5 separate regions of the Homo sapiens genome follow, and regions 2, 3, 4 and 5 are each linked to region 1. Evidence: promoter capture Hi-C in 16 types of primary human blood cells and fetal thymus (Javierre and others, 2016). All regions are on one chromosome and are shown on one strand. Each heading gives the region's core, a stretch centred on a gene start or on the middle of the fragment in contact. The rest is flanking DNA. Distances are from core to core; before and after follow the strand shown. Region 1 holds the start of LINC02690 (long intergenic non-protein coding RNA 2690). Region 2 has its middle 25 kb from the start of LINC02696. Region 3 has its middle 39 kb from the start of LINC02687. Region 4 has its middle 24 kb from the start of LINC02687. Region 5 has its middle 5.1 kb from the start of LINC02696.

Evidence for each region. The method cuts DNA at HindIII sites, captures the fragments that hold promoters and counts their contacts. A CHiCAGO score of 5 or more calls a contact.
Region 2: a fragment that was not itself captured here is called in contact with the fragment with the promoter of LINC02690 in region 1 in 1 of 17 cell types (endothelial precursors); the score reaches 5.5 in endothelial precursors.
Region 3: a fragment that was not itself captured here is called in contact with the fragment with the promoter of LINC02690 in region 1 in 2 of 17 cell types (endothelial precursors and M0 macrophages); the score reaches 12.1 in endothelial precursors.
Region 4: a fragment that was not itself captured here is called in contact with the fragment with the promoter of LINC02690 in region 1 in 2 of 17 cell types (endothelial precursors and M1 macrophages); the score reaches 11.0 in endothelial precursors.
Region 5: a fragment that was not itself captured here is called in contact with the fragment with the promoter of LINC02690 in region 1 in 4 of 17 cell types (endothelial precursors, M2 macrophages, megakaryocytes and 1 more); the score reaches 9.7 in endothelial precursors.

What each region holds. Positions count from the first base shown.
Region 1 is chr11:45,749,943-45,753,153 of GRCh38, forward strand. It overlaps LINC02690 (long intergenic non-protein coding RNA 2690), which reads right to left and starts at 1,666. Exons shown (of 2, transcript NR_183774.1): 1 at 1,569-1,666; 2 at 878-1,266. The HindIII fragment of the contact is 8,573 bases long and covers 1-3,211 here.
Region 2 is chr11:45,328,767-45,332,051 of GRCh38, forward strand. No RefSeq gene overlaps it. Among named protein-coding and RNA genes, the nearest start is that of LINC02696, 25 kb to the right of the region's middle. The HindIII fragment of the contact is 2,132 bases long and covers 496-2,627 here.
Region 3 is chr11:45,409,086-45,412,677 of GRCh38, forward strand. No RefSeq gene overlaps it. Among named protein-coding and RNA genes, the nearest start is that of LINC02687, 39 kb to the left of the region's middle. RefSeq lists enhancers at 2,041-2,701, 2,702-3,363. The HindIII fragment of the contact is 1,735 bases long and covers 1,429-3,163 here.
Region 4 is chr11:45,393,776-45,397,052 of GRCh38, forward strand. No RefSeq gene overlaps it. Among named protein-coding and RNA genes, the nearest start is that of LINC02687, 24 kb to the left of the region's middle. The HindIII fragment of the contact is 2,080 bases long and covers 429-2,508 here.
Region 5 is chr11:45,348,679-45,351,818 of GRCh38, forward strand. No RefSeq gene overlaps it. Among named protein-coding and RNA genes, the nearest start is that of LINC02696, 5.1 kb to the right of the region's middle. The HindIII fragment of the contact is 5,570 bases long and covers 1-3,140 here.

The DNA.
Region 1 (3,211 bases), core at 416-2,915:
TACCCCCTACCCCTATTCTCAGGTCCTGCCCCACTTCCTGTGATACCTGGTGCCTCTGATCCTGGACCCTTTCTGGGTCTCTGTAGAGAAAATCAGCTCATTTCTATAGTGCCTTCCCCACTGGTAAGTACAGAGGTTTGATGTTTCTCCTCTCTGCTGAGCGCTTTATCCTCCTCCAGCAGCTTCCCCCTCCACGTATTGAGATTCAAGAGTAGGGAGGTCTCCATGTTCCACCAAAGACGGAGTTCAGGCTTCTATTCCTGTTCTCCTGTGGTTTCTGTACAGTTTTCAGGAGGGGAAAGGAGTGGAAACCTTTCTTCTACTGTCTTAGAAAGTCTTGGGCAAAATCTGAAATGGGGGATAGGAGTTGACCAGGCAGATGAGGCAGCAAAGGGTATTCCTGCCAGAGGCAGCTATCTTCACAGGCAAAGAGGAATAAAGAGAGCCTCCTGCTGCATGGCTGCAAGCAGGGAGAAGCTAGAGCCTAGGCTAAGGAAGTGGATCCGGAAGGGCCTTCAATGGGCCAAGAAGTGTGTCCTTGATCCTGGAGCAAACGAGGAGTGGGAGGAGAGGAGCCCCTTGGCCACATCTGCCCTGGGGCAGCAGCATGGCAGAGGTGCCAGGGGAGCAGAGCGTGGGGGGCATGCGGGGGAACAGACACGCTGGGAGGAGAGAGTCCCCTAGGGATGTGAATGTGGGAACAGGAGGAGGAGTACTCTGAAAGCTGTCTCAGAGCTGGAACCAGCAGGACTTGTGACTAACAGGAACGGGGCATGAGGGCAGAGGGAGAAGTGTAGTTTGAATCAAGTTTCTGGTTTGGGCAACAGAGTAGGTGGCAAGGCTGTTGACAGAGATGAAGAAACACCGCGGGAGAAGGCAATGTGGGGAAAACTCTATTTGCATCTGTATTACATTCCTCCAAATTCCATCTCTGAGAAGTCCACGCTGGCATTATATATAGTCGCAGTCAATATCCACATAACATTGTGGTCCTGCTTTTTTCCCTTAGCAGTACGTTTCCAGGTGTCACCAGAATCCTCAACGTCTTCCTTTGATTTGGCCACAGAATATTCCATTGTGTTAATAAACATGCCGGTTTCACCTTCTTATCCCCATATTCTGGGCATTCTGAAGAGGACTGTGATGGACACCAAGTTGTTCTCAGTAGGGCCTGTGAGTGGCTCCATAGCCCAGGTCTCCTGCCTCCTCCAAGGCTGAGGACCCCCTGAGGGCAGCTCAGGGGTGCCGTTGCATCTGCTCTGCCATCTACAACAGGAAATGTTGAGGAAGAATGCTTGAGACCTCACAGTCCCTGTAACTCACTGATCCCCAAAACCACCCCTGAACCTCAGAGGAACTTGCTTCCCCCTCTGGTCCCCAGGCAACACTGATTCTCCCAAGCTAGGTCGGAGCAGGGAACCTCACTCTTCCTCCACCTGAGCCCTCTCCCCTTCCCAGTGGCCATGCTGTTTTCTGCCGTCACCCTCCCCAGTAATGGCCTCGCTCACATCTCCTCTCAAGAGGGTCCCAAGGTACATGGGTCAAGTGAAATCAGGGTTGCCCCAGACCTAAGAACAGTGGTGCCCCCAGAGGGAAGCTGGAGCCCTGTGGCAGAGGTGGAGGAAGAGGAGAGGACCAATCAGTTGTTATGGCAACCAGGGCTCCCAAGATGGAGGGAAGGGAAAAGGCGGCCCTGCTCATCAGTTGCCATGGCAACCCAGAGCCTCCAGGCCAGCTTTGAAAACAAAAACCACACACACCCCACTTAACAAAGAAAGTACCCAGGACTCCTCGGTATGCTCCGCAATCCAGAGCGCCAAACGGAACAGGTCAAGGTCTGGTCTCACGATTGACTTTGTAGACTTTTTTTAGGGGCAGAAGGGCTGCTTTTTTTCTGAGAAAATAGAGAGCCAGGGCTTGATAACCCGTAGGGTCACTCAGCAAGCATTTACTGAGCCTACTACATGCCAGGGCCACAGCGACAAATTAAGATCCAGACCCACTTTCAAAGGAGGAGAACAGATATTTCCACATCAGTACGAGACTTGCTGGAAGTCTTCCCTGACGACGGTTTGGCAGTGTTCATTAAAAATTTTAAGTGGATGTTCTCTGTGACCCAGCAATCCCATTTCTAAGACGCTGCCTGCAGAAATATTTGAATCTGAAGGTGATCTTTGCAGCATTATTTACAGCAGTAGATAATGGAAAACAACCTAAATGTCCCGTAATGGAGGCCAGTTACATCAATTTTGGTACATGCATACACGTTGAAAATGCAAAGGCGTACGGGCGGAAGAACACATAAGGAACCATTAGCAGCCATTACCCAGGAGTCGCAGGACTGACCAATAGGGTTAGAGAAGGGGGGCGTTTCACTTTACTTCTCAACCATTTGGAGATGTTACAAGAGTGCGCTTCCCTCCCGCCCCCAAGAGAGACGGGCTCTTGCTTTGTCACCCAAACTGGAGTGCAGTGGCACATCACGGCTCACTGCAGCCTTGACCTTCCAGGCTCAAGTAATCCTCCCCTCAGCCTCCTGAGTTCAGCCTCCTGAGTAGCTGGGACTATAGGTGTGTGCCACCTGCCCAGTTAATTTTTTGTATTTGTTTAGTTTTTTTGTTTTTGGGGGTTTTTTTTTCCTTTTTTTGAAATGAAGTATTACTCTGTCATCCAAGCTGGGGTGCAGTGGCACTATCTCGGCTCACTGCAACCCCCGCCTTTCGGGTTCAAGCAATTCTTGTGCCTCAGCCTCCTGAGTAGCTGGGATTACAGGTACCCGCCACCACGCCTGGCTAATTTTTGTATTTTTTAGTAGAGACAGGGTATCGCCATGTTGGCCAGGCTGGTCTTGAACTCCCAACCTCAGGTGATCCACCCGCCTGGGCCTCCCAAAGTGTTTTTGTATTTTTTGTAGAGACGGATTATCGCTATGTTGCCAGGGCTAGTCTTGAACTCCTAGCTTCAAGCGATCCTCCGCCTTGGCCTCCCGAAGTGCTGAGATTACAGGAGTGATCTACCGCGCCTGGTTTACTTTTATAACTTAAGGAAAATGCTAAATGTTTGGGATGATTGGTCATACAATGGGATTTATAGTGATGAAAATCAAGTACGTTAACTGGTTATGATACAATGCAAAAAAAAAAAAAAAAAAAAAACCAGCACAGGCCAGGCGCGGTGGCTCATACCTGTAATCCCGGCACTTTGGAAGGTC
Region 2 (3,285 bases), core at 312-2,811, 420 kb before region 1:
AAGTCCTGAAGGCACAGGTCCCACTGTGATCCCATTTCACAGCTGAGAAAACTGAGGCTCTGAGCAGTCCTGTGGTCCTTCTCTTCCACAAAGCTGCTGTAAAGTCTGAAGAAAAGTCTGGGCTCCCTCGGTCTCTCTCCACCTTTGCAGCCTCCTTGCCCTTCTCCTCGACCCAGGCCATTCTTTTTCCTATCCTTTCTCCAACCAGATGTCACCCCAACACCTGTACACACCCCATCCAGCTCGGCCACAGAACTGACTCTCACTCAGGATGAAAGCAGTCTCCTTTCTTTTCAGTGAAAACCTGCCTTGACCCTTAAACCTGATGCTTGGCATTCCCTGATGCAACCAAACTGACTTCAGCCTGAGATCCAACATGAGGCTGAGCCATCAGGACTGCCTTGGCTGGACATTTCTCTCCCTCCTGCCAGGTACCCTGTTCTCAACCTCTGACTGGCTGTCACCTTCAGACTGCTTTTAATGGAGCAAAACGCAAGCTTTGCAATAATAAGGGGCTTCAACAAAAGCCTGTTCAGAACAGAGAGAGAATTTGAGGAATCTCAAAGCTGAAATCAGTCTGGTTAAGTTGGGAAATGCAGTGCTACAAGTTGGGCCAACAGCCCTAGAGGCCTACAGGGACAGAAGGACCCAATCTTTCTACACTTGGGTTTCTGTTCTTGTGTGGGTCCAATTTCTAGAGTTAAACTTCAGGCACAATTTCTAGATGTGCAACAGTAGTAGCTCTTATCAATGGAGCACTTCCAGTGTGCCTGGCTCTGTGCTGACCCCATTACATGGATTCATTATTTGGCTTCTAGAGTGGGTAGAATGGTGGCCCCCAAAAGATACATCTGTGTCCTAATGCCCAGAACCTGTGAATATGATCATATTTGGAAAATTGATCTTTGGTGATATAATTAAGAATCCTGGGTTGGAGTCATACTGTGTTATCTAGGTGGGCTCTCTATCCAATGACAAGTGCCTTTATAAGGGATCCATGAAGAAGAGACAGAGGGACAAAGATTGGAGTTCTGCAGCCACAACCCAAGGAACACAAAAAGGCAAGAATAGATTTTCTTTTTTCTTTTTCTTTTTTTTTTTTCGAGACAGAGTCTCGCTGCTTTTTCAAGACAGAGTCTCGCTGCTTTTTCGAGACAGCGTGTCGCCCACGCTGGAATGCAGCGGCACGATCTCAGCTCACTGCAACCTCCGCCTCCCGGGTTCAAGCAATTCTGCTGTCTCAGCATCCCAAGTAGCTGGGACTACAGATGCACATCACCACGCCCAGTTAATTTTTGTATTTTTAGTAGGGATGGGGTTTCCCCATATTGGTCAGGCTGGTCTCGAACCCCTGACCTCAGGTGATCCACCTGCCTTGGCCTCCCAATGTGCTGGGATCACAGGTGTGAGCCACCATACCCAGCCTAGATTTTCTCTATAGCGTTTGGAGGGAGTGCAGCCCTGCCGACACCCTGATTTCAGACTTCTAGCCTCTAGAACTGTGAGTGTGTAATTTTCTGTTGTTATAAGCCACCCAGTTTATAGTAATTTGTTACACCACCCAAAGGAAATAGAGGAGTCTCCCATCAACTCTGGAAAATAGACACAGTCATCTTCCATTTTATAGATTAGGAAACTGAGGCACAGGGCTTGGATAACTTGTCCAGGGTCCCAAAGGCAGGAAAAAGCAGCACCAAGATGAAAAACCAGTTAGAATGACCCCAGAGACCATCCTCCCAGCCACAGTCTGTGATGCCTCCTGCTCTGCTAGACTGCTGGAATGTGCCTAAAATAAGTAGGCATTTGTCCCCATTTTGCAGATGAGAAAAACAAGGCAACCGTGAAGTAACTGTTGGGGAAAATAAAACTGGGATGGAACATTGAAATTCAAAAGTAGTTCCTTGTATGCCTCTTTTCTTCATGCTCACAACCAGCCAGAGAAGTGGTTGTTACAACGTCCATCTTCCAGATGGGAAGATTAAAACAGTAGCTCTTTGAGGGAGGGACTGTTCACCATTGCTACCCTGAGCTAGCCCTGAGCCTGGCTGAGGTAGCTCAGGGAGGTGTGGTCATTCATCCAAGATCATGCAGCCTGCCAACATGAGGCCAGGGACTCAAGCCTGGGTTTTCTAATGCCAAAGCCTGTGTTTTCCCTCTGCTGAACAAATGCTGACCTCTGTTATCTCCAGACTATATGAGCAAATGGGTGGAGGGCAGAGAGACACTGTGAGGCCTGGAGAGAATGTTGGTGGCAGCTTTGAGACTGGGGTTGGGGGTGGTATGCCTTGATGACTAGAAGGGTTTGGACAGGTGAAGGAAACAGGACAGAAGAGATAAACTGACACCCAGCATGGGGATGCCAGGGTCTAGAGGCAGGAGGGAGGCTGGGAACCAAGGCTAAGGAAGGAAACCCAGATTTACTCTTCATCCTCCCTCTTCCTGAAGCTCTCCATGTACCCCAAAGCCCAGCCCCCAGTGATAACACTACAGGCCTGTGCCCTAATGGCAGGCCATGCATCAAAAGTCAGAAGATAGTGGGGCAGCCATGCTACTGCACACAACTTGATACATTTCCCAGGAGCCCTGGAATGTCGGCTCAGCTTCGGGAGTCACATCTGACTTCTCTAAGCTTCAAGGCAGTGTTCAGAAGTGAGAGGTGTCCTTCCTCTCCTTCTCATGAGTCTGTGTGGATGGTCAGAGAGCCGTATGTTCTCGTACACACCGTTTTCGAAAGGAGACAGTCCTTGACTTGAGTTTTAGGAATTCTCTTCCCAGTCTTTAGTCATTGATTTCTAGAAAAAAACCTTTTCCTCTTTATTATTTAACTTCTGCCTTCATCCCTGCCACCCAGGCTGAAGAACTGACAGTGAAGTATGCTTTCCTCAAAGGCAAGAGAAGGACAGGGTTATGGAGAGAGTCCTGGCCACGAGACGGGATCTCAGGGGTTTAGTATTAGCTCTGCCTTTAATTGGAATAGTGAGGATGAGTTTGGGTGCTGGAGTCAGACAGGTGCAGGTTCAAGTCCCAGCTAGACCACTTTCAGGCTGCATGGCCTTGGCCAAGTGGCTCAACCCCTCTGAGGCTATAAAATGGGAGTAATTGTGTTTGCAAAGCAGAGATTTGTGGGGAGGATGCATGAGCAAATGCACCGGCTCCGTAGAGCTCGGTACATAGTGAAGCTTCAGTGCTAATGATTATCATGACATTAGGTCTCTTACACCCCCTTCCTTCCCTGACTCAACTAAGTCATGCTGCTGGTCCTTGTCTGCCAGGCTCTAGCACAAG
Region 3 (3,592 bases), core at 1,046-3,545, 340 kb before region 1:
TCCAACCTGTCCTGTGGCTGTCGGCTTGACCTTTGTGTTAGGTTAGCATCATACCAAGCCAAGTGCACAGGTCAAGGTGTTGTGTGAGATGCAGCTCATCTGGCACATGGGGGTGGGCATTTCAAAGTCACGGTTGAGTGGATGAGTATGTGAAAGCTGCGTATCCGTCATGGATTAAGTAAACAGTGTCGAATGTCAGGAGCCATATCCGAGTTTCATTTTTACAATCATGTCAGCATCGGGTGCAGGTTGCTCATGTCGGAGGCAGGCACGAGGTACGCACATCAGCCATATGGTAGGTGCTGCTGTGTGTTACATGTGTATGTCGGTATCAGGTGTGGGGCCTCGGTTCACATGCTCATGTAAAGCGTGCCTGGCAACCTGTCTGGTACCCAGCCCCTCCTCCCAGCACCCCACTCCCCTCTCACAGGAATGGCTGCCTCTCCTGCTCAGGGCCTGTCCAGGTGACATAGCGGAAGCCCCTGCCTTTCATCTCCAGCCCCATAAGGTTGGGAGCCCCAAGCACATCCCAGCTCAGGGAATAAAGAGGCCCCTTTGTCGGACGCTACAGCAGACTCCCTGGTCCCCTCCTCCAGCCCTACCTCACCTATCCGTGTGCCCCACTGACCACAATCGCACTCGACCTGAGTCATGCTCCCTGGAGAAGGGGCCTGATGTCATCGAGAGCTGGCAGAGGAGAGGCATAGACAGGCTGCTGCTGTTAAAAATGACACCTCTGCAGGCTGCTGTGATACTGTGTGTGGGCCAGCTCTGTCCTCTATCTTCTCCTCTCCCTGTGGCACTGCCCTAGCAGGGCCTGCCTGCATTGCTCATTGCTCCAGGCTTTATGTTTGGAGAAGAGAGAGAGAGAGATGAACTGGGGCCCAGGAAAATATGCAAGTGGGGGCTGTGCATGAGGACCATGGCTCTGCTGCTTACCAGCTCTGGGAGCTTGAGCAAATTGCTTAAGCTCTTCTTGCCTCAGTTTACTGCTCCGTAAAATAGGGATGGGATTGTTGTGATGGTGAGAAAAGAGCTTGTCTGTGACCATGCCTGGCACAGGCACACAGTAAGCTCAATAGATTGATCAAATATTCTCTTTTCTTTCTGGCGACTGGCAGGTCCGCATTCCAGGAAGAGGGCAGAAAGAAGTGGGAAGACTGTGCTTCTCTCTCTCTCCCTGTCTTTCTCTCCCTCTCTCATTTCCTCCTTCCCTTCCCTTTCCTCAGAGCAACAGAATGACCTGTCTCTCAGAATGAGCCTGGGCCCAGGGAGCTACATTCCCAACCTGCCTCTGAAAGGCAACCCTGGAGGGCAGGTCCTCTCAGCAGGCTTGGACACCCTCTGTCCCTCCATCTTCTCCCTTTAGGTTCAGACCAAGGCTGCGCCCTCACCCAATTGCCTTTATTCTGAACCTGCTGCAAGACAAGCTTCCATCTTCTGCAGGAATAAGTATGGCTGGAAAAAGTGCAGGCCAAGGAGTCAGCCCTGCACCTCCCTGGCCAGGGGCACTGCATACATTCCTGGCCTGGTGACTTCACGCATCTTTAGGGCAGGAAGAGTACCCTGGCAGGGCTGTTAGGAGGACTTGCTGAAATGACATTCTTAATGCTGCTAGTTCAGAGGGCTTTAGTCCACGTCCTTCACTCCTATAAATTTCCTTTCACTCTGTGCAAAGTGCAGAGGTTGTCAGGCAGCAGCTTCAGAGCCCCTGACTCCCCTGGGGCATGGTGGCCCTCACTGGATCTGCTTCCTCCCTCGAGGTGGGGGCCTTCCCTGTCTGTCTGTGAGTACCCTGGTCAGCATGTGGGTCTGTCTCTTGTCCGATTTCCCTTCCCTTGTCCTTATCACCCCTCCCAACCCGACCCCCGACCAGGACAATGCCAAGGTTTGCAGGAATTCTCACCCACACCCCGCCTCCACCTCCCTGCCCTTCCTCTCTGTGGGGAGCCCTCTGTGTCGCACAGAAAGAGAGCAGCAGATGTTAAAGCCGTGTTCCCTTGTCCGCACTCAGCCCGCTGGGGTGTTTGATCTCTGGCTTAACAAGTTCAGCCATTTTTCTGAAATGAGGAAAAGATTCAGACAGAGAAAGAGGGATGGAGACAAAGAATGAGAGAGACCATAAGATAAAATGATCCAGAGACTGAGAGGAAGATAGAAGAGAAAGACAAAGCAAGGCAAACACAGAGAGAAAGAGAGAGAGACTAGAGCAGGGACCACCTTCTCTTACAATCCTCACCTTCCCCCTTCCCCATTCTCCCACCTCTCACCTGACCTCCTGCCCTGCCTCCCACCCTGCCTCCCACCCTGCCTCCCAGGCCCTGATGACTGGTGACCATCAGCCTTGTAGCCACCATATCAACTCTGAGTGACCGTGCCCTCCCTGGGGGAGGTTACAGCCTCTCTCCTGTGTGACAGGGCATTTGCTTAAGATTCAAAGGCCTCTGATACAGAGGACGCTTCCCTCACAAGCTGGGAAGAGTAGCCCTGTGGTCCGGAGGGCTGGCTGGCAGGGGACAAATGGGCTGCCAGGATGGAGCCAAGAACTCCTGCTTTGCTCACTCCTGGGGCTGAGCAGCCTTTCAGGAGCACCCGGGGAGCCAGCAGTGAAGCCCTCCCTCACTCAGCATTAACTCCAAATTTATTTCTTGCTCTGCCTCTCCCTCCCCTCTTCCCTCTCCCCTCCTTTGTCTTCCCAGTATTCGATTTCCTATTTGAGAACCGTTCCAGCCTGTGCCACTGCTGAAATCCCATCCTCGGTAACCAGTGAAGGCTGTTTTAAGCCTGTGAGTCAGAGACCAGTGCTGGTTTTTATTAAAGGCAAAAGGAAAATAATCTGATTTTTAAAAAGCAAAACACCTTCTTAATGTTTCATGGGACATCAAACTGTCTGAGATAATATCTTAAAACACTCATATACACATGATAGCCCCCAACCCCTTCCCAGCCTCAGGTGGGAGTGTCAAACCTGCTTGGGTTATTTTTTTCCCCGGGCTAAATGTTTCTAGGTCACTTCCATCCTCCCCCACTGAGAGCTCCCATACAGGAAACGCTAAGGATTCCACTCCAGTCCCCGAGCCTCCATAATTAATGGGATCACTGGAAACCAGCCGGAAGGATGCTAGGGGCGAGGGGTCTTATCTCTCTGGTCTCCAGGCAGAGAAGCTTCTCGCCAGATGAGATGCTGAGTCTATGCAGGCCCTCGGGCCACATCTGCTGACACTGATCCAGCTCCTTACTAGCCCACCTGGGGCTGGCAGTCTCGGGGCCTCTTTCTCTTCCTGCCCCACCACCCTCTGGAGCTGTCTCTTTCTATAATTCTTCCCTCGTCGAGTCTATTAGCGTTCTCCGGCAGGCTCTGCCAAGCTCAGCTGCATCTCCTTGTCTAGTTTATATTAGAAGAGAAAGCTCTGGCGTGTTTTCCCCTTACCTGAGGAAAGAGATGCTTCTCTTTTTCAAGACACTCATAGCCTTTGATGAAGCCCAAGAAAGGCTTAAATTATAATGAAATGCAGTCATCTCCAGACGAGATTACCCGGGAGTGCTTCCGGCTGCCTTGTGAAAACGGCCTTCCAGCAGAAAGGTAGCTGGG
Region 4 (3,277 bases), core at 219-2,718, 360 kb before region 1:
CATTCTCTGAGGGAGTTGAGACAGCAGAGGAAAAAAAATACTGCACCAGAAGCAAGAACACAGATTCTGCGAGGGGACAACAGTGGGAGGGGTGGTCTTTGTGTGTGTCGGGGGCAGGGGAGACGGGGTGGAGGCAGAACTAAGGAGACCCTCCCCTGCACCACGCTTTGGCTGGATCTTGAGGGACACGTGGACATTGATGGGGAACAGAGGACTCCGAAGGGCGCTGCCGGGGGTGGAGAAGGTCTGCCGAAAGGCATGGAGGTGCAGAAGGGCAGGGCACAGCCGAACTGCAAGGTGTAGAAGGCCAGCTGGGAAGGGTTCTGATACCAAAGGATTTTGGACTTTGTCCCACAGGCACTAGGGATGCAGAGACAGATCCTAGGAAGGAGGAGCGTCAGAGTGAGCCAGAAAGATCCCTCTAGAAAAGCTTTTCCCACTGTAGTGAGGCTGATGGAGGCAGGAGGCCGGCCAGGAGGCTTTGGCCATGCCCACGAGGAAGGGAATGAGAGTGTCTGACCTCAGGCACTGGTTGTGGGCACAGAGGGTAGAGGGTAGTGGATGTGGGGAGTGAGGAAGGCGGGTTTCCTGGCTGCCTCTGAGGTTCCAGCATAAGGAGAACCCAGACAGGCAGGGGCAGTGTTAACTTTAGTCCTTCCTGACCTCCGGCCTGGTCCACCTTTGCTGAACCACCCGGTCTCTCTAAAGCCTGAGCAATGTAAACACCCAGCTGGGCAGGTTCCAGTCCCCGCTCCCCAACCCCTAGCTGCGCAACTTCGGACAAGTCACTCCCCATCTCTGACCTTCTGGGCTTTAGTTTCCTTATCTGGAAATGGGATGACCTGGAAGCAGGGCTAACATGAGGATTATAAACTCTGTGTTTGTTTCAGATTGGTCCTGGCAGGAAACAAGCTCATTCAAATTGGGTAATTGGAAGGGAGTTTTTAAAAGGACTATTTCCAAAGATCTGGGTGGGTGTAGAAAAATCTCAAGGGACAATTCGGTGCCCAGGGCTGGTGACAGTCATCCCAGTGACCACCCGGAAGCCTATATGGGGAGGGCCACCTGGCAGGGGCTGGGGCTGGGGCTGCAGCAGCCTCCCTCTGACCATTCAGATGGGGAGCCCTGGTCCCTGGGCTTCAGTGGTCTATACCCCAGGAGACTGAGTGTGGGTCTCTCCTTGAGTGTGAGAAAAGCAGTGGGCAGCCCCAGCCAACAATCAGTCTCATATGGAGGTCATAGGAGATTCACTTTCTTGATCAGCCTCCTAGAACCAGGCCAAATCAGGGGGACAGGCCAAGGGAAGCTGCTGATTTAAAATTCAAATGTGTCCAAAGCCCTCACCCCAGGACCTGAAGTTCCCTTTTCCACTTTCTATGCCCCATCTCTCTCTCCTGCTTCTTTTCTTCCCTCCGTCTCTGTCTTTCCTCCTCCACTCTGTACCTCCCTTCCACCTTTCTCCTCTTCCTCTTCCTTCCTCCTCTCTTCTCTCTCTGGCCTTCTCTCCCTATCCCCCACCTCTGACCTTACTTAACAGCCAACACCGTCCAAGAGACACTCCTCAGTCAGAATCGCCCTCACTTTTTGACTTCACATTTGTGGACCTTGGCCTGAGGGAGATGTGGTGTTGTGCAGGTGTTGGGGGCCCCAGTCACCCTGGTGGCTGTGTCTAACACACGGAGGCTCTTGGGGAATCCAGAGAGGTGTAGAGCCTTAGCCTTCCATTTCCACCAGCAGTTCTTGACCATCCGCAGTAACTGGCCTAGTCAGTGCCTGGCTGCCCAGCACTGTCTGGACATCAGTGGGATGATGGTCAGTCCTGGGGAGGAAGCAGCTGCTCCATGAGAAAGAGTATGTGTCTGCGTGTGTGTGTGTGTGCGTGCGTGTGTCTCTGTTTGTAGGGAGCAGGCCGGGATTAGCCAGAACAGACAAACTTTTTCAGGTGAATGATGAACAAGGACAAAAAAGATGGGAACCATTTAAATTGTACCTAGTGTGTGCTAGGCACTGGGCAAGGGGCTTGCACATACTTTATCTAATTCTCACATTGGCCCTACATGGTTCTACCCATTTTAGAGGTGAGGAAAGCAGTATTGAGGACCAGCTAAAGGCTCGTGTCTGTGATAGGCTGTGTGAGGACTAGGGAACAAGAGTAAGCGCAGTACAAGTCAACAACACTATTAGTTGGGCACCTACCATGTGTCAGGCACTGGGTTATAAGGAAGCCTCCATGCTTGTCTGGCACAGTTCCAGAGCAGAGAGAAATGAAGCTGGTGACCAGAGAACCCTGCGACATCAGGAGTGCAGATGACTTAGGCATCTTCTAGAAGTGCAACTCCTCCATTGAACAGATGGGCAACTGAAGCCCAGAGGGAGGAAGTGTTTTCCCCGAAGCCACATGGCGAGTCCTCTCGTTCTAGCTCACAACACTGCTTCCAAGGACGTTTCTTCTGCTTCTAGGCTCCCCCTGTTTTGAAGCTGATTTTTATTCCCTCACTTAAACAATTAAGCTTTAATACACTAAAAACAGATCATTATCTTCCTAAGGTTTAAAAAGCAAGATTACTATTTGTAACACAAGTAATTAGCTACCTTCTGGTGTTTCCTTACACTCCTCTTCCCCAAAGGATTATGCTTTTTTATGTTGCAGAGGGCCCAGCAGCTAGATGTGATGGCCAAAGCTGTGGCCCTGGAGGAGGCAGAGGGAGGATCCTGGGATCTTGGGAGCTGGAAATGCTCCAAGTAGGGAGGAAAGGGGGCTAGGGTTGGCTGTGGGGGATCTGCCTACGTGCAGAGTTCCTCTTTAGGGGTGCGGGCTTGGTTCTGACGTCACTGGACCATCCCAGCCCAGATTGTTTGTTTCCTGGGCCACATTGCTGCTCTGGATAAAGATGGCCACTGCCTCAGGGATTTACGGGGGTGTAAATCAACTGTAACACCAGATGTGGAATCTTCCCATAGAGGATCTTCAAGGGGTCTATGAGCCCTCTGCATTCAAATGAAATGTCTGGATCTTTTTCTAATTGTTTGGGAATAGGGTCCATGGATTTCATCAGATAATTTTAATGGTAAAAGGAAGATTCATTGATTTTTTTCTTTCATTTGCTTTGTTATGAAATATGAAGAAGCACATATAAAGTGTATGTGTCTAATGTAGAGAATAATGAAACAGCCAGATGGAAGAGATGCCTACAGTGAGGTAAGGGAGAAGAGGCGTGGAGCTTCCATGCCCTCTCTGGGCACACTGCCCTCCAGGGACCTCCGTGTGTTCAGCAAT
Region 5 (3,140 bases), core at 641-3,140, 400 kb before region 1:
TCAATCACCATTTTAAAATATATTTTGTATTTCAATAAGGCTGTAATCATATGTGTCTTCAGCATTTAAAAAGTTTTATTCCAAGGTGCCCCTAGGCTTCCCTGCCAGAGGTATCCCTGACATGAAAGAGGTTAAGAAGCCCTATCTAGACAAAAAAAGGCAGGCCTTATTTAGACCAGGGAGTAGTATTAATAGAAGGAGCAAGGCAGGGCAAAGGTACTATCTTTGATCCCGGCAAAGTACAGCTGGATATGGCAAAGCAATGCCTGACCCAACCTGAATGCCAGGTAGCCAGACAAACCAGTGTGGTCTAGAACAGTCTAGAAGAGCAAATTGCCTGGAAGGGTGCTGCTCATGACAATCCCAGGAAGCACAAACAAGGGAGCCCTTGAGGAAAATCTCCCCCAAAGTACCTGTGGTCACTGTTTAAAGCTCTGGCTTTGACCCAGGTCAGACCTGGCTCAATCCTGGCTTCATAATCACCTTTGGCAAGAAATGGTTCACCTAATCAGGGTGAACCTCAGTTTCTCTCTCCATCTGTAAAATGGTAATAATACCTCCCTTAAGTTTTTGTTAAAGTTATGTAATTTATTCATAAATATGTTAAACAAAGAAAGCAAATTACAGAATGATAGATACTTCATTTATGTACAATATTAAGTAATACAAAACTATGTTATATAATGTTTATAAAGACTTCTGCACTAATATAGAAAATTATGCGTGGGGATCAAAAACACCAAATTCAATTTCCTAGTGCTTATATATAGGAAATGGGGGAAAATAGGTTTGGGATAAAAAAATGATCTGTGTTTGTAAGTGGAGAATCTGAAATAAATACATATGGCAAAGATTAAGATTTGATAATGCTTTCTTTTAACCTTTATTTAAGTGACCTACAATAAGCTGAACACTTAAAAACATACAATTTAATAAGTTTTGGCATATGTATACTCTCATGAAACCATTACCATAATCCAGATAATGAACATATCCATCATTCCCAAATGTTACCTCATTACAACATGCCATGTTGTAATGGCTCATCTGGCAGCCTGACTTGAGAGTGTGTGCCTTCATCCTCCTGAAGAGGGTCAACTGTATTCCTTTATTATCTTGCTTATTCTGGAGAACCTGTAGTAATATCCTCTGTTTCATTCCTAATATTGGTGATATTAGAATGTTACCTAATATTCTTCTTTTTTGTCTGTCTTGCTAGAGTTTTATCCTTTAGAAAATATTTTCAAAAAACCAGCTCTTTTTTTTTAGTTGCTTTAATAGTTTTATTGCTTTCTATTTCTTGACTTTGCTCTTTATTATTTCTTTCTTTCAGCTTGTTATGGGTTTAATTTGCTTTTCTTTTTCTAGGTACTGTAGTTGGGAGCTAAGATTGTTGATGAGAGTTTTCCTTTCTTCTAATGTATGCTATGCATTTAGTGCTATAAATTTCCCTCAGCACTGCTTAGCTCTCTTCTACAAATTTTGATATGCTTATTTTCATTTTCATCCAGTACAGCATATTCTTTTGTTTCCCTTGAGACTTCCACTTTGACCCATGGAATATTTAGAAACGTGTTGCTTAGTTTCCACCTGTTTGGGTGAGTTTACTGTCATCTTTCTGTTGCCGTTCTCTAATTTGATTCCACAGTGGTCAGAGAACACACTTGGTATGATTTTAACTCTTTCAAATGCGTTAAAGTCTGTTTCATAGCCCAGAATGTGGTCGATTTTTGGAGTATGTTCCCTGGGCACTTAAAAAGAACATACCTTCTGTTGTCAGGTGGAGCATTCTATGAATGCTGATAAGATCATTTTGATTGATAGTGTTGCTGAATTTTTCTATATCCTTGCTGATTTTCTGTCTAGCTGTCCCATTAATTATTGAGAGAGGGGTGTGGATTTGTCCAGTTCTCCTTTTAACGTATCTATTTTTTGCTTCACATATTTTGCAGCTGTTATTTGGTGTGTACACATTTAGGGTTGATATTTCTTCTTGATGGATTGACCCTTTTATCATTTTGTCACATTGTTCTCTATCTCTGGTAATTTTCTTTGCCCTGAAATTTACCTTATCTGATGCTAATATAGCTACTCCCACTTTGATTGTTTGCATGATATATTTTTTCCATCCTTTCACTTTCAATCTGCCTATATTGTTAAATTTGAAGTGAGAATTTCTTACAGGTGGCATGTAGCTAGGTCATCATTTTCCTCTACTCTGCCAATCTGTGTGTTTTAATTGGTGTATTTAGACCATTGACATTTAATGTAATTATTGATATGTTAAGGTTTAAGTCTACCATTTTGTATTTTCTATTCTCATTTCTGTTTTCTCTTTCTTGCCTTCCTGTGAGTTATTTTAACTTTTTTGTTGAATCTCATTTTTATTTATCTAGTGTTTTTGAGTGTCTTTCTGTATATTCTTTTTAGTGGTTGCTCTAGGTATTTCATTTAATATATACATAATATCGCATTCTCTGGGGTCATCATTTTACCAATTTGAATGCAGTGGAGAAATTTTTACCATCCTCTATATCCCTTTACCTTCTCCCACTTATAATTGTCTTAAATATTTCCTCTACAAACATTTAGATAGATATCAGCAGATACAGGGGAAGTACTTTTTTGTTTGTTTTGTTGGTGGTCTTTGGCTGGAGTCAAGCAGTTATTGTCCAAAAGCCTTCTGTCTTGCTAAGTTGCCCCATTCTTAGTCCTTTATCTTAAGAAAGGTGGCTTTTCTTGGGACTTTTTTTTTTTTTTTGTCTGATGCCGTTAGCATTACTGGGTCACTGGCTTCCTCAGCTCTAGGTTTGGAATATATGAGGCAAAGGAAAACCCAGAAAATTTGCCAGCATGGTGCTCCTTAGATCACAAGGTTCCTAGTCATTCCACCTTTCTAAGTCTTCTTATGTTTGTTTTTTGTATAATGCCCAGGGGTTTTAGTTGCACTTTGTGGGAGGAAGAAGAGAAAGTACATTTACTCCATTTTCCTGGAAGCAGAAGCCCTGATGCATTTCTAAAGCTGGCCTCTTGTTCCACTTTCACAAAAGACATTTCCCTATGAAAGAGCGTTAACATCCCACTGCTCTTCAAAATGGAAAACAAGTTTGCAGTAAGAGACAAGATGATCAGCAAGGTTT